2 separate regions of the Homo sapiens genome follow, and region 1 is linked to region 2. The links are contacts of gene promoters, found by promoter capture Hi-C in human tissues and cell types (Jung and others, 2019). All regions are on one chromosome and are shown on one strand. Each heading gives the region's core, a stretch centred on a gene start or on the middle of the fragment in contact. The rest is flanking DNA. Distances are from core to core; before and after follow the strand shown.

Region 1 (2,700 bases), core at 187-2,686, 120 kb before region 2:
ATGACAGTATCTGTTAATATTGAAACTAAAACTAGTATGTTATACTTTAAGTTCTTACTAAGATCCCTTAACTGACCTTAACTGATTTAGGATGAATTCAGGCAGTTTCTAGTTAATGACACTCAAATATGCTATATGATTATATTTTTATAGTACTTTGGTCTCTAATCCTATTTAAAATTGGTAATTTATGAACAATTTCAGCAAAATGAAATTATTTCCTTTACAAGCTTCCCAAGTTGAAGAGTTTAGGTTGTAACCTTAAATATAAACTTTGAATATTCCAATCTTTTTCTTTCGCTTAACTTGGAAGCATCTTTCCACAGCTAAATTAGGAAAGTTGGGTTGACCATTTAGCCTCGTGGGTGTGACCCCTAGTAATTTCCTTGAAACAGTGTTGAAGAATTTAGAGCATTAAAAATAAAAAATAAAAAAACCTGTAGCTTTTTGATTGTTAGTAGATGGCTATGCAGAGTTTTCTCCACTTGTCAGATTAAGAAAAAATACTGTGTGTAAAAGACAGAGGAAAAACTTTCAGAGAAAATGTAAACTTCTAGCCAGGTCTTGGAGATAATTTTGTAGTTTTCAGGGTACAAATGCATTGGCCAGAGAATAGCAATTTAAGTTGAATTTTTTAATAACTCCTTATTTGGACACCTCAGTAACTTGGGAAAAAGTAGCTTTGTTAGCAGTATGACAAATTGTGTATAAATATAATTTTTCTGTGTTTTTGAGGACTTGAATACCTTATTGCTTTGTATTATGGTAGATACATATTCCATATCAACAGTGTAAGATAACCTATTAAGCAGAAGAAACAAAGAGGCTGTGCTGTTTCTAAAAGTTAACAGTTTGAGTACATCAGGATGTAAAGAAAAATATTCCCAAGTTACAGTAATTGTCAGCAAAGTGGCTGTTGTACCTAGTTAGTTGTACTTAAGCACAGATTACTGTGCTTTTTATTAAGCAGTGTATAATGTGTCCTATTTGCTAATTTCAAGATCTATAGGTAGTGGTAGAATTCATGGTAGCTTTAGTCACAAATCAGTGTGTAATTAGTGACCTAAAGAACATCACACTTCTATTCCAGCCTTTTGTAGCAGTGTGGTTCCCACTGGGTTTCAAAGATTATGCTCTGGTAAATTTTAAAAGTATCTACTGAAATAATCCCAATAGAAGTTTCTTTCAAAATATGGCTATACTCAATAGCCCACTTGCCTTAGGTGTTAGGGGGTATATGAGTTAAGTTCTGTCGTTTACCTGAGTAAAGATTTTAAAATGTTTTTAAACATTGGAAACCATTTTTGTGAAGTACTTGTCAGTAAGCTTAGCGTGTTCGTAATGCTCACTTTCTTGCAAGCTAGAAGCATTTAGATTATAGTCTTGGATTATAATATCCTCCTTTTCCCCTCCAGTTCTTTGTTGAGAAAGACAATTTACTTTAACAGCAGTGCCATCGGTTTACTGCTGCCTTCTGTGTGCAGGAGTGTGGAGAGCTGGAGGCTTCTGGGAAGGCTTGTGTTTGTGCACACACACCATTCAATTGGAATGGTGATTTGCTGTTAGTAGATTAGAATTTCTATTTTGCTGTATTCTGTTATTAACATCTTTATTGTTACAACCACTTTAACGATTACTGATGAGCGAATTGGTTTTAAGCGATGTAAACCTGGTTTAAAGTATTATTCATTGTCTTAGAGTTTAAGGAAAGTGTTTTGTCTAGTATGTTAGCAGTTTCTAAGTCAAGAGCTGAAGGCATTTGCTGTCAGAGATAGCCCTAGGATGCCCAGCATTTTTGTTTTGGAGGGTCGTAAGGAGAGTGAGTATAAATCCAAATAGTGCAGTTTTTGTTTTGCTTGTGCTGATGAACTTTATGGTGTGATTAAATATGATTTTTTTATTACGCTCTTGAAATTGTACTCTTGAAGTTGCAGAATGGCAATTAGATGGCAGTCACTGATAGCCATGTAGAAGTTTTGATGAACATGCAACTTAATTTTAATTTCTGATCAGTTACGTTTAGTGACTGTGGCCAAACATGTGCGTACTGATTCTACACGTGTGCTAATTCCGTGACGTTTATTCACCAGCTATGTGTCGCGTGCCTACTCCTGTGTCAGGCACCTTGTTCCAGGCATTGGGGGCAGCAGTGGACAAGGCAACAGAGTCTCCATCCTGAGGTGTTACTTTTAGAAAAAGACAGTTACAAGCAAACAAACAGGATGGTTTTAGATCTGGACAGAGGTTTTCAGAGGAAGTCATCCTTGAGCTGTCACAATGCTTTGGGGTTAGGGTGTGCTGGGTAGTCAGGGATGGCACATTTGGGGTGCCTAAGGATTGCTGTGGCCCTGGGAGCCTAGGACAGTTGATCACAATTGACTATTAGAGTCAGTCTCAGAAGCTTTCCTGGAGAAAGAATTGCTGCTGTTTTGCCAGGAGGGTTTCCTTCCCCATCTGACCACACAAGAAGACCCCTTGGCCTAGAATGCCTGCCCTCATCTCCAGGTCTCCCAGGCTGTTCACCCTCCCAGGCAAAGTGGAAACTTCCTCTGTCCTAAGATCGTTTCCCACTGAACCTCCTTCATTGTCCTTCACTGCAGAGAAATAATCCTACAAGGTCTTGTGTGGAGACTGATGGTAACTTCTTTAACCCAGATAATTGAGAATTGGAACCAAAACATCTGTCTGTTAATAAATATT
Region 2 (2,707 bases), core at 89-2,588:
AATCCCAGCACTTTGGGAGGCCGAGGCAGGCGGATCACAAGGTCAGGAGATCAAGACCATCCTGGCTAACGCGGTGAAACCCCGTCTCTACTAAAAATACAAAAAATTAGCTGGGCATGGTGGCGGGCGCCTGTAGTCCCAGCTACTCGGGAGGCTGAGGCAGGAGAATGGCGTGAACCCGGGAGGCGGAGCTTGCAGTGAGCCGAGATCGCGCCACTGCACTCCAGCCTGGGCAACTTTGAGACAAAGAGCGAGACTTTGTCTCAAAAAGAAAAAAGAGAAAAAAAAAAAAGGATCTCCCTCACCCCTGAATTGATAGAATGGATCAGAGGGCAAGGCTGGAACAAGGGAGAGGGGTTAGCAGAACTCTGCAATAATCCTGTGCAAATACTGGACCAGGGTGGTAGCACTGGAGGAGGAGTGGCAGACATCTGAGTCTAGATCTATTTTGCAGGTAGAGCCAACAGGATCTCCTGCCTGCCTTATTGGGTAGCGGGCAGAAGGGGGGCATTCATTCACAGCTGACTCCGAGTTCTGGCCTGGGGACTGGAAGGATGGAATTGTCAACAGCTGATGGAGGCAAAGCTGAGAGGGAGCAGGTTTTTGTGTGTGGAAGTGGGGTTGGCTCAGCTCAGACACGCTGACTTTGAGATGCCTGCTGGAGCTCCAAGGAAGAGGTGTTGGGTAGACAGTTCAGGCGAGGAGTCTGGAGACATAAATACATTTGGGGATCTTGAGCACATCAATGCCAGAACTTAATTGCATTTTATCTTGTTCAGTTAACCTAGGTGATGTCTGGACCGGCAAACAGAAATGGACTAGGCGGCTTGAACCCTATCTGAAGACTTTTGCTAGTTCGGCAGCCTAGAGCCAGACGGGGCAAGAAAGAATCGCTGCTAAGCGGAGTGGGAAAAAAAGGCCTCTTTCAGTGCTTTGCCATTTCATCTGGCCTAATTGCACACAACACTCGGTCCACGTTCATTCCACAATTCCACACGCATCCTTCACTCAACAAATAGCCATTGTATTTCGTTTCATCTTCAAAACAGGCTCAAATGGAGGAAATTAGGGTTAAAAGAAGTGAAGCACCAGCGAGGGTCAGGGGCAGAGATCGCAGCCCAGAAAGCTCTCGCGGTTGGGGGCCGGTCGTAGCTGGTTTTGTGAGTGGCAAGAGAACCCGGGTCGCGCCCCAACCCGCGGGGCGGCGGGCTGGGGTTCGGGGCGGCGGGCTGGGGTTCGGGGCGCGGCCCCTTTAAGGCCCAGGCAGTGATCTCAGCCGCGTCCGCCGCCCCGCCCTCCCCGGCGGCGAGCCCAGAGCGCATGCGCGCCGCGGCTGCACTCCACTGGGCCCGGGACGCGCCGGCGGCGGCGGAGACTCCGGGGCTGCGGCGCCGCCCGCCCCGCCCGCAGAGTCCGGCTGCCGCGCATCGTCCGCAGACGCCGCCACCGCCATGGGCTCCTGAGGTATCCCGCCTGGCCGGCCTCGCCCGGGAGCCCCAAGGGGGAGCTGCGACTCCCGAGCGCGGGGGGCTGCTTGTTTCGGAGAGGCCCGCGCGAGGGACGCCCGGCTTCGGCCGCCGGCTCCCGGGCGGGGAGGGCACTACGGAGGCCGGTGCGGCCGCGGAGGGAGGGGGCATCCGTCTCCCCACCCGTGCCTCCTCTCCGCCCCGCGAGGTCGCCCGTGGGTGTGCCCGCTCCCTTTCCACGCCAACGTGGCGGGGGCAGCTCCTGGAGTGTAATCGGACCTGTCCGGGGGGCGGCCCCGGGAGAGGGAGGCGGATGGACCAAGGCGCTTTGCAAGAGGGATTGTGTGCTCCCGGGTGGGTGTGCTGGCGACTGGCACGGCCGAGTGAGTGGGGGAGGCGTCCGTGCCCTGTGCGGGTGGCAGTGACCTGGGAGGGTGGTCGGCGGGGGGCTTTCGGGGCTGCGTCGTGAGTGGAGGGTGTACACGCCCGCCACACAGGTCCGCAGGTTTGGAAGGGGATCGACTGGGACCTGGGGCTCGAAAGATGTTTGCCCCCAAAGGGACCGTGGAGACTGGTTTTGGGTGTCTGTATCCTTCCCGTGAATTGTACATTTCCTCCTGGGCACACCCTTGGTACCTCGCTTGGATCCACTTACCTCCAGTGCTGGGTGGCTCCAGGCCAAGGCAAGGCAGTTATGCTGGGGGTTGGGCATGGATTCCCAATACATATCCCCTCTGGAGGTGTTGTATAAGGCCAGACGTTTTACTCCTCCCTCCTTTCCAGGGCATTTTGGGGCAAAGCAGGTATTTGCATGCCTGATACCTGTGGTGAGGTGAAGGCCATGTATTATTTATCTGACTGCTGGTGCTTTTGTAAGGAAAGAAGCAGCAATCTGTGCCCTGGAGGCCCTGCGCTGCAGAGTCAGCCAGGCAAACAAGCTCACCTGCACCTGCAGAGGCAGCGCAGGTCTCAGAGGTGTGACTTCGTTGACAGGTTATGCCTACAGTGTCCCTTTCCATCTACCTATTTAGCTTCCTTGGTAGAACCCCTAGGCTCTGCACCTCTGAACCTTGCCTAGGGTGCTGTGCGTATCAGAGTTGGGACCTGGGACGCTGGGGTGGGAGAGCCCCAGCAGCCAGGTATGTGTGCCCACCTGGACAGAAACATTTGATGCCCAAGCCATCAAGGAGCTCTCAAGCATGGGGGAATCAGATTTGGAAACAGGTGATCACGATGATGTG

The links. The method cuts DNA at HindIII sites, captures the fragments that hold promoters and counts their contacts. A contact is called where the count stands out against the background at its distance.
Region 1: a fragment that was not itself captured here is called in contact with the fragment with the promoter of TMEM184B in region 2 in 2 of the 25 tissues and cell types used here (dorsolateral prefrontal cortex and stomach).

Annotation. Positions count from the first base shown.
Region 1 is chr22:38,389,991-38,392,690 of GRCh38, reverse strand. All of the region lies in intron 1 of TPTEP2-CSNK1E (TPTEP2-CSNK1E readthrough), which reads left to right. It also overlaps the pseudogene TPTEP2. Among named protein-coding and RNA genes, the nearest start is that of TPTEP2-CSNK1E, 7.6 kb to the left of the region's middle. The HindIII fragment of the contact is 3,040 bases long and covers 1-2,700 here.
Region 2 is chr22:38,271,641-38,274,347 of GRCh38, reverse strand. TMEM184B (transmembrane protein 184B) reads left to right here and starts at 1,338. Exons shown (of 9, transcript NM_012264.5): 1 at 1,338-1,464. RefSeq lists a silencer at 1,186-1,815 and an enhancer at 1,878-2,587. The HindIII fragment of the contact is 18,337 bases long and covers 1-2,707 here.